Linked DNA regions of Homo sapiens: region 2 is linked to region 1. The links are contacts of gene promoters, found by promoter capture Hi-C in blood cells and fetal thymus (Javierre and others, 2016). All regions are on one chromosome and are shown on one strand. Each heading gives the region's core, a stretch centred on a gene start or on the middle of the fragment in contact. The rest is flanking DNA. Distances are from core to core; before and after follow the strand shown.

The links. The method cuts DNA at HindIII sites, captures the fragments that hold promoters and counts their contacts. A CHiCAGO score of 5 or more calls a contact.
Region 2: a fragment that was not itself captured here is called in contact with the fragment with the promoter of PID1 in region 1 in 1 of 17 cell types (endothelial precursors); the score reaches 8.9 in endothelial precursors.

What each region holds. Positions count from the first base shown.
Region 1 is chr2:229,268,521-229,274,123 of GRCh38, reverse strand. PID1 (phosphotyrosine interaction domain containing 1) reads left to right here and starts at 2,837. Exons shown (of 3, transcript NM_001100818.2): 1 at 2,837-3,110. The coding sequence starts at 3,081. The HindIII fragment of the contact is 3,085 bases long and covers 471-3,555 here.
Region 2 is chr2:227,938,641-227,944,243 of GRCh38, reverse strand. No RefSeq gene overlaps it. Among named protein-coding and RNA genes, the nearest start is that of DAW1, 70 kb to the right of the region's middle. The HindIII fragment of the contact is 5,260 bases long and covers 191-5,450 here.

The DNA.
Region 1 (5,603 bases), core at 1,588-4,087:
CACACATTTACATGCCTAATATTTCTACTCATTGCACCAAAACACCTTCTGCTCATTTTAAGGGTGGTTTCTTGCTCAGAACAAACCTGTTTACATCGTAAGGCAGCATTTTCAGATTCACCAGGAAGGATGAGGTTCCAATGTCACAGAACAGAGCTGGGAGACATTGGCATGCAGGTCTCATCTCTAGCCAGCAGATGTCTCTATTTCATTCACCCTTCATTGCAGGCTCCTCCTGAATGGGAAGACTTGGGAGCAAAATCTATGAGTGGGAGGTTGTCCCATCCTTTTGTCACCTCCCACAAGCCTGCAATTGCCCCTCCTCCACCCCCTCCCCTAGCTTCCTGATTCGTGGCATAAAGGTAATTGAAACAGGAGTGCCATTTGAGTTTAAATACATTCTTTACTTTACCAAATCTGTTTGCAAAGTGGGAACGGTAACTGAAAGCAATCTTTACAGAGCCAAAGCTTTTTCTCTTTAAATAGCACCATACTCCGTACTAAAAGCTGTATTACTGAGTCATAACAATTAATTACGTTTGGAGGTGAGAAGACAGGATTTAACGCTCTAATGCGATTTGAATTTAGGCCGTTAACTCATTCCACTGCTATTTAAAACAAAATCACTTTTCCACGGAAGCATCTGCAAGCAAGGATGGTTTCAGAGCTTAAGTCTGAAGACATCCCTGGCAACTGAATATTCCTGTTTTAGCTTCCTGGGGGGGTTGGGGGGTGGGGTTTATATGCATGTCTGGATTTTCTAGATTTTTGTAATGAATTGCATTTCTTTCTACTTTGGGATTTGATAAAAGAGAACTGGGGGCTGGGAAGGTCATAAGGAATTTTGTAGGTGTGGAGGTGTGCAGGAGGAGTTACCGGAAAAGCAAACAGAGACCATATCACCAAGCATGTGAGGCACATGTCTGTGCGGGCTGACAGGCAAACACCTCATGAAAAGAGATTTATTAATAAGTTCAGAACAAGTAGCAGGAACTGGAGAAGGAGCTGAGAAGGTTCAGGTGGTTATCAGGCAGGAGTGGGAGGGTCCTGTGGATATCCAGGGAGACAGAGACAAGCTCTTCAGAGGCAGCTCTGTGGCTTTGCCAGAGGCTCCTAGAGGCACTGAGGGTCCTGGGCTTGCCAAGGCTGGTGGCACCAACATAGCAACCGCAGGGTCCAGAAGGATCTGCCTGGAATCCTGGATCTGAATCGCCATTGTAACTCCCCACAGTGTGACTCTGTGAACCCTGTGCTCCCCAAGCCTTGGGAGATAGGGGCTTCTGTCCCACGGAGAGTTGCTGCGAGGGTCCGATGAGCTGAGGGTTAGATTCTGGAGTGGTTCCATATCTGGAAATCATTGTAGTCATGCAGAACAAGGAAAATGGACAGATCCTCCTTCCAGACATGGAGTGTGGATTTTGACATTGCATGAGTAGCTCACGGCCCAAGCTGTGCAGCTGTCTCAGTATGAAATGCCTCTCTTTCACACCCCTCTGCTCTCAGGACCCTGCCTTGTAGGAGCCTAGGGCTCCCCACAAACATTGTGTTCTCTCTGCTCCTCTCTTTGGTCATTCTATGTCCTGAGTTCTTCCCACCATGTTCTCCTCTCCCACTCTTCATCAGCTCGAGAATCAGCTTAGTATCCCTGACTTGCCAAGTGCCTTTAACCCCCAGCCCTAGACGGATGCTCTTTCCACTGGGTTTCCATGGTCAGTTAGAGGCGCAGGGCCACATCTCCTGCCCTGAAGTCATCTGACTGTGCACTCTCTAAGCCACTCACTGGCTGTGTGACCTGGACAAGTGACCTAAACCTTATAAGCCTCATTTGTTTGATCCACATGGTGAAAATATTAATAGTTATTTTGCCGAGTTGTCAAGAGAATGGGAAGGGCTGGCCTGTTTAGGACAGGAAGTCATCTCATGGTGGCCGGCACTAGCCGGGGAGCCTCCAGGCCTGCGAGCCCAGAGCGGCTTTCCCTTGGGTTCTGAGAGCCTCCTGCTGCACCTGGCAGATCTCAGGATGAGTTAGTGATTCGGGAGTCTGCATGGCCCTCCTCACCCCTGTATAGGTTAGGAGTCGAGTCCTCTCCCCATCATGAAGCATGGCCTCTTCGTGGCCAATCCCTCTCATCTCTCAGGTCTTACTCCAGGCATTCCCCAGGGCCCTTGTCTAAGAAGCTCTCCTCTCCCCTTCTTCCCACATCTGCCCTGTTTTATCACCACCCGATATAGCACCGGCTTGTTGATGTGTTTGCTCAGTCACGACTCTCTCTCCAAAGCAGAAGGTAAGCTCCAGAGAGAAGGAACATTCTCTTGTCTTCTATTCTGCGTCGCTGCATCCTCAGAACCCAGCATAGGGGCTGGAGCCTAATAGATGCTCAGTTAACTGGAGTGGGAAGAATGAATGGAAGTGTCTCCCTAGCACAGCGCCAGGCACAGCACAGGCACTTCAGAGATGCCTGTTATATGGAAACCCGGGACCCCCGGGGCTACGGTTTCCTTATTTTAGGAATTTCCCCCACCCCCGCCACCCCCGACATCCCCGCTGCCCCCACCACCCCCGGCTCCAGGCCCTTCCCCCCTCAGCCAGTCTGTCCCTTTTCCCAGACCCCAACCCAATGGGGGCTTCCTGCAGGGAAGGGCCGGCTGTTCTAGCCTCCCCATTCACCCCTCACTAGGATTTAGAGTCGGCCGCGCTGCACTCCCGCCCCGCGCGGCCCCTGGGCGCCCGCCCCGGGCATGCTCAGAGCGCGCAGGTCCGGGCGGCGGCGGCGGGGGAGGAGGGAGCGGCCGCCCCCGCCGCCGCCGCGCGCTCGCCGGGCCCGGGCGGAGCTGCGCAGTCCTCTCGCAGCTGCGCCAGGACAGCCGGCGCGCGGCCGTGCCCACAAGTTGCCGGCAGCTGAGCGCCGCGCCTCCTCCTGCTCGCAGCCCCCTACGCCCACCCGGCGGCGGTGGCCAGCGCCAGGACGCACATCCCGCGGACACCGACCCCAGATGTAAAGCGGGACCCCAGCCCCTCGCCCCCCGGCGCGATCGACAGTCTCGCCAGCGTCTCCTCTGCCAAAACCCAGGGCTGGAAGATGTGGCAGCCGGCCACGGAGCGCCTGCAGGTAAGGGGCACCCGGGAGCCGGGGGCCAGCCTGGAGGAGGAGGTGCCCGGGCAGAGGAACCTAGTTTTTGCTTCTGCCTACTTTAGGGGATTTGCCCAAAACCATCTTGTAAGACGCATCGATGGCAACATGATGCTGTCGGTTTACCCAGCGCCAGGAACCCGGCAGGGGTATGGGGATGATGAAATTGATAAACGCACGGGTTCAGGCGTTACAACTTTTGGCTTGGAGGTGCTTGTGTGCGTGTTGGTTGGTACATATAAGGTTGGACTTTCTGACTGGCAATTTAGATTGCATTCCACTGACACAATGCAGTGGTCTGGGGTTAGGATTTTTGAAGCCAGATTTTTTTTTTTTTTTTTTTTTTTTTGTGGTCACCAGGAAAGACAGAACAAGTGATATGTGAAAGCATCCATTTGCCAATATAATGTGGAAATATCAAGCTTGGTTTGGCTTGGTCATGGTATGCTACTTATTTTATTTTTCCCTATTCATTGGTTCTCTCCCTTTATCTTCCTTAAACCCAAGCTCCTTCAGATATTTAAGAATCAAAAGTAGGTTCAGCCAGGAATATTTATGTCCTGGGTTATCCCATCAAAAGTTTTTTACTGCTGTCTCCTGAAATGCCAGACTGCCTTGAATTGGATTCTGGAAGCTGGGGATTTGCGGGAGGCGATTGAAGAGAAAGAGGGACCTTTCCCAGAAGAACTCCTTCAGTGACACGTTGGGCCTTGGGATTGCCCTGGTTGCAAGGTTTGAGGACTGCCTTTTGCTGGCAAATATTGTCAAGAGTCACGGCAGCTACTCTGCCAGATAAAATCCACTGAATCCTGCAGTTAAACTTTTGGCAAGCTAGGAGCCACATTGTTTCGTAGTAAACTTTGAAGACGTGTTTAACTGGTAAAATACAGCACCATTGGAGGCTGAGTGCATCTGAAGACTTAGGACAATGAGGCCAGGCCCTGGCTAGGTTGGAGGCTTCTCAATGAACATTTACAGCCCCAAGCACAGTTTCTCAGATGCAGGGAGAGGCTAACCTTTGTCTAGGAGTCCTCATACAGAGGAACAACCCGCAGAGGGCATTGCATTTAGCAGAAACAGATGCCCCACAGCTCCTTTCCAAAGCTCCCTGGGCCATGATTTGCGGGGAGTGTGTTCAATTTATCAGAGCCTGAGACACCAGACCAGTTCCCCAGGGTCTCAAGTAGAATAAACAAGAAAACCTGCATTTAGCCTTGCAGATGAGGAGGTGGATGACCAACCTCCTAACCCCCTCCTTGTCTTACTAAGAGAATATCAGCACTGGGCTCTGAATGACTGATAGAAGGTGATGTAAATATATTTTGGCAGTGGCACCAGATACCAGTGGCGCATTTGAAGTTCTCCTTCGGTTAAAGGCGTAACTTCTATTCCAAAGGAGCAGAATGATTGAGGGGAGCTGGCAGGTTTCCTGTTCAAGTGCAGAGGGTAGCTTTTGGAAGTCCTTAGAGAGATGTGACCAAAATTCCTTGAGGTGGCTTTTATGGCCTGATGATCTGTACCTCTGAAGAGTTTGTAGATTTTTGACTATTCAAGTTCTTCCTACCGGCCTGTTTCACTTAGGGAATCCTGTGCGCTCTGGAGCATGTGACCCTTGGCAGGTGGGCGCTCTCGCTTGCCTTCCCATAGAGATTGCTCCTCACTAGAAATGTCTCCCCCTTATTTTGTGAAATGTGCACGTGTGCATTTTGGCGTGAGCCTGGTTTATTGCAGTTGGTGTTTGCAATGCGTTTATTTTATTTCAAGGTGTCATGTTGAAAGAACCTGTTTTTAGGCTTTTGAAAGCTCATATAAACAGGGCTTATCACCAATAAGACCGAGTCACTGTTGGAAGGTCCTTACCAACAGGGGGCTCAACTTCATGCTGCCCAAATTTCGATGAGTCTCTTTTGAAAGTACATACATCTCAAGCCTTGAGATTAGAGAAGTGAGACAAATGCGGAAAAATTTTTTTATATCCGTGGCTTCTTCCCAAAGAGTATTGCTTGACTCTCCTTGAAAACACATAATTTATATGTTTTTACTTTTGCCTCTGAGAGAGCTGTTGAGGATGAGATGGTGAGTGAGCTGCTTATCATATTTTATTTACATTCCTTGTGGTTATCTTTGTCACAATCTCTGTTTGCTGTCTGGGGTTTTTTCCTTTTCTTTTCCTTTCACCGTGATATAGAAACATGCCTGTCCGATTCCTCAGTGAGAAGCCACTTTGCCACTCCCAGGCTCTGTGGCCACAGAGATAGCAGTGGATATCATGCTGGATAGGAAACTTGAGAATGAGTTCTGCTCTTTAATGATGTCTGAGCTCCATGTGCCTTTCACAAATCTTTATAAACCTTCTCATTCGACCTCATTAATTTTTTTCTCATTTATCTTTAATACAAACATTCTAATTTAGATGAGCCAGAGTGAAGAAAATTCGTCAAGGAAACATTCCCAGAACTTCCTAATAGGACT
Region 2 (5,603 bases), core at 1,571-4,070, 1.3 Mb after region 1:
AATGAAAATTTAGTGTCTGAATAAATATGAGTCTGTCTTCATTTTCTCTCTACTATGAAAATGCTCTCACTCTACTTGGTCTCAGGAAAGAGGGTTTCTGGTGAGTTTGTCCTGTGGAAGTCTCTGTCAAGTGAACCTTCCTTTTGAGGTGGTGATACCTGAACAGCTGGGGTTGGAAAGTGCAGAAGCTTGGCAGGTCACTGGTAAGGTTCTTGAAAAGCCTTGACCTCAGGACAGCCTGTCTTTCCCTTTCTAGTCAAGTCCCCATTCTCCAGAGCTATGCCGATCTGGGGATGCAGGGACAGCACTAGCCAGTGGTATGTATCTGACCAGGGGAGCAATCCAGGAACTACGTTACTGACTCACAACAGAACTTATCTGGGTTTGTTGCAAAATGATTTTTTTTTTGTCTATAGAAAATAGAGTTATTTGTCTCCTCCCTGAAACTTATTGTGATATTTTTGAATAATGTGTTCACTGTTCTTCCCAAGGTGGGTCAGTTTTATGTGTCTACTTGGCAAGGCTATTGTCCCCAGTCATTTAAACACTCTGGAAGTTCTATTTGCTTTTTTATTGAGTATAAATGAGAAAAATCTGAAAACGTGAGTGAGGATCAATGAGTAGTTGGAGTGTCTGTGGTGGCACTATCATTGTGGTTGAGGTCACCTTGGATCTCACAGCTATAGGTATGGGAATCCCAGCTCTGCTCTTCCACTCCCAGAGATAGCAAATCTGCAGAGCTATAGACTCGCAGAGCCAATATGCCGAGATGCACCTGCCTGGAGAGAAAAATACACATGCACACACATGCATGAACACCCACAATGATGCATAATCTCTAACAGTGAAGAAAATGTGGCACAGTAGTTTCCCCTTATCCACAATTTCACTTTCTGTAGTTTTGTTACTCAAGGTCAACTGTGGTCCTTGAGTAACCAAGGACCCAAAAATAATCAGTAAAAAGTTCCAGAAATAAACAATTTATATATTTTTAATTGCTTTCCATTCTGAGTAGCATGATGAAATCTTATGCCATCCCACTCTGTCCCATTTGGGAAGCGAATCATCCCTTTGACCAGCATGTGACTGTAGACACTACCTGCCCTCCGTCACTTAGTAGCTGAGGGAAAAGACAGATCACATTCACATAATTTTTATTACAGTATATTGTGATAGCTTTTCTAACTGTTCTATTTTATTATTAATTATCATTGTTAGTCTCTTACTGTGCCTAATTTATAAATTAAACTTCATCATAGTATGCATGTACAGGAAAAACATAGTATATACAGGGCTCAATATTATATATATAGGTTTCAGGCATCCACTGGCGACTGGAACATATCCTGTAAGGATAAGAGAGGGTAACTTAATGTGGATTCCTGAATATCTAGTAAGCTCTCACACTATGAGAGTTATTAGGTTAAGTGCAGAAATATAAAACCAAACAGGCTAGATATTACTAATGTTAATCAGTATCTATTTTTCTTCAACTTCCATGTACTCAAAGGATTACATTCCTCCCCACCTTTTTTATAGAGACAAGGTCTCACTCTGTTGCCCAGATTGAAGTGCAGTGGCACAATCATAGCTCACTGCAGGCTCAAACTCCTGGGCCCATGTAATCCTCACCTCTCAGTCTCCTGAATAGCTGAGACTACAGGCACATGCCACCTGCCTCGCTAATTTTTTTTCTTTTTTTTCTTTCTTTCTTTCTTTTTTTTTTTTTTTTTTTTTTTGTAGAGACAAGGTCTCACTATGTTGCCCAGACTGGTCTTGAACTCCTGGACTCAAGTGATCCTCCCACCTTGATATCCCAAAGTTTTGGGATTACAGGCTTGAGCCACTGTGCACAGCCCTTTCCCCCTTTTTTTGAAGTTATGTATGGCTAGGTGACCAAAAAAACTGAACAGAAGTGTCATGTGTCAGTTGTCAGTTCTGAACTCTACAACCTCTCTGCCCTTGTCTCAGTGATCCTGAGACCATGTGTTGATGTGGAGCAGCACATGAGTCATCCACAGAGAACTGGTGGCCTGAAGAGTCACCTAGAGCACAGCAGGCTTACTTTACAGAAGTGAGAAATAAACTTCTGTTTTGTGAATCATCTAAGAATTGAGAGGGGAGCAATTTGTGTATTTCGTGTTTGTTTGTTTCTATAGCACAACCTTGCCTATCCTAATGAATGTCTAAGTAACACGTGGTACCTGCCCTCCATGTGCTTACAGTCTAGGAAGGTGATTTCAAGTGTCTCAGTGGCTTTAATAACATGTATTTATTTTTACCGAAATAATTAGTTATTTCCAATTTATGAAGGCATTTATTTCCAAAGATGATAGAATGATCATTTCAATATCAAAACATGTATAAAACAGGAAAACCAAAAAATTCAAATATATTTAGAGCATTTATTCTCAACCTTGGCTATATCAGAATCACCTGGGAACATTTTCAAACTACCAAGGTCAGGGCCCTAACTGTCAGAGATTCTGATTTAATTGGTCCACAGTGGAGCCCAGGCACTGGTATTTTTAAAGTTCCCTAGTTTCAGATTCAATGACTTTAATAATTGCATTAAGCTCCTGGGATAAGTCTTTTAAGTAGTCTTAATATTAAACATTAAATTAAAAATTAAACTTAACATTAGTTAGCTTCCAGTTATCCAAAGGAAAATAGAAACACATTTCTCAACTGACAGGTGACTGAAAAAAAAATGGCAGATAGGAGGCAGTACTAAAGTGCAGCTCCCACTCTGGATAGACAGAGCAGAATGTGGAGACTAGCATTGTGGACTATTGCTCCAAAAACTACTGCAGGAGTATACCAGAAAAGCCAAGAGAATCCACAGACCCTTTGAAGGAAGTGGATTCCTCCTGCAGGATCCAGGAGACATCTCAAATACCGTGCTGGTATCCACAGCTGAGAGAACTGAACACAGTTCACCTCACAGGACTCTGTGCAGACACCCCCAGTACCAGCCCAGAGCCTGGCAGCCCTGCTTGCTGGCTAGATTCAGAAGAGAAATAACAATCACTACAGTTTGGCTCTCAGAAAGCCACATCCCTAGGGAAAGAGGGGGAATATTACATCAAGGGAGTACCCCGTGGCACAAGAGTCTGAACAGCAGCCTTGAGCTCCAGATCTCCCCTCTGACATAGCCTACCCGCATGAGAAGGAACCAGGAAAACAATTCTGGTAATATGACAAGAGAAGGTTCTTTAACACCCCAAAAAGTCGCATTAGCTCACCAGCAATGGATCCAAACCAAGAAGAAAAATCTGAATTGCCAGAAAAAGAATTCAGAAGGTCAATTATTAAGCTATTCAAGCAGGCACCAGAGAAAGGTGAAGTCCAACTTAAGGAAATCAAATAAATGATACAAGATATGAGGGGAGAAATCTTCAGTGAAACAGGTAGCATAAATAACAATCACAACTTCAGGAAATAAAGGACACACTTAGAGAAATGCAAAACATACTTGAGAGTCTCAGGAATAGAATTGAACAAGCAGAAGAAAGAACTTCAGAGCTCAAAGACAAGGTTTTTGGAATAACCCAATCCAACAAAGACAAGAAAAAAGAATTTTGAAAATGAGCAAACCCCCAAGAAGTTTGGGATTATGTTAAATGACCAAATATGAGAATAATTGGCATTCCTGAGAAAGATCAGCATTCCTGAGGAAATTTAAAAGTTTGGAAAACATATTTGGGGGAATAATCGAAAAAACTTTCCCCGGCCTTGCTCAAAGAACACCTGGGAAATTCATCACAAAAAGATCATCGCCTAGGCACATTGTCATCAGGTTATCTAAAGTCAAGACAAAGGAAAGAATCTTAAGAGCTACGAGGCAAAGCATCAAGTAACCTATAAAGGAAAACCTATCTGATTAACAGCAGATTTCTCCCACCTTGGCCTCCCAAAATGTTGTGATTATAGGCATGAGCCACTGTACTGGGTCTTATGAAGGTATTTTGTAGAGGTGATTAAAATCCATAATCAGCTGACTTTAGGTAAGGGCAATTATCGTACACAGTCTGAATGGCCCTGATTCACTCAGCTGAAAGATCTAAAGAGAAGAATAAAAGCCTCTCAGGAGAATGAGATATTCTGCCTGTGGCAAAAGTTTCAGCTGACACTTATCCTGATGGCCTTCCCTAAGAATTTCAGACTTGCCTAGTCAGCCTCAGAATCCTGGAAGACAATTCCTTACAGTAAATGTCTTTATGTTTTCTACTTACTCCGTTCATTGTTTGAACCTCGATTGATATACTCCCCAACCCTCACTAAATTGTAAACCGTGAGGGAGAGATGTCTGTCTTCCCTTTTATGAATCCCAGTACCTAGCAACACGCCTGGCCCATAACAGGCACCCAGTGAACATCAACACAAACAAGGCTACTCTGTGATCATGATGTGGGCCAAGACAAAAGACAAAACAAAACAAAAAAATCACCATACGGCCATCTGAACAGACACAACATGAGCGTTGTCCAAGCCACGAAAGTGACTAAACAGCCCCCTCTCCTGGCTGGTATGAGTGACAGCTGCTCCTTTACCAATTACAACTTTAACCTTGCTCTAGTTTGCTTTCTCAATGGATAATTTATGAAGACACCCAATCATATAAAATTATTCTCACTTCCTGAGAGTATTCCATCTAAAGCAAAGAGCAAAGCCGGAAGGAAGGAAGGAAGGAAGGAAGGAAGGAAGGAAGGAAGGAAGGAAGGAACGAAGGAAGGAAAGAAGGAAGGAAGGAAGGGGAAGGGAAGGAGGAACAATCTGGTTGAAGAGGTAAAACATGCAACATAAAGGATGGGCCTTGAGACACAATAAATGCTATTGGAATTCAGCGTAAGGAGTGAGCACATCTGGCCATGGAGATCAGAGAAGATTTATAATATGACCTGGGGTTAAAGGATAGAGCGTGGGGGAACAAAAGTGTAGAGATTAGAAAGGGCATATCTGGACACATCATACAAGATAAACTAAACAAAGAATTCATGTGATAGAGTGAGGGAAAACAAGTGTGGACGAATAGATCATGACCAGATTTTGCACAATTAAATGCAGAACTTCATTCTTGCAGCCAGTGGTTTCTTGCTATCTATCTATCTAACTCTCTATCTCTCTATCTCAAGATTCAAAAAATTTTTCTTCAAATGCTTTTTACTTGGAGGCTAAAATCAAAGACAAAAAAAGTGTTTTTAATGGCACTCCTCTGGCTAAAGTGCAGTGTGGAAGACAGGATTCCGTGTACTCAGCTCCTCACTCACTGAGCTTTGAAAAATAGCTGAGACTCCATAAAGCTGAGTTTGAAAATCAATGTTAAAGTCATGAGCCATGTTAGTATTCATTCATTCATGTATTTACTCCATCAATCAATCAATTAATTCACTATTTAGAGCACTCTAACATGCCACATTTTGGAGAAGCTCCGAGTAAGAAGAGAAGCTTCGTCTCCTGGTGGTAGGACCTGATTGAAAAGGGACAATAACACTCCTGAGGTTGCAGGTCTTTGTGGACATTACTGAGGTCCAGCAGCAGCCTCCAGGTCCTATGGGGCTTATTCCAAAGACAATGAGTCCCTGACAGAGGAGGCAGACTGT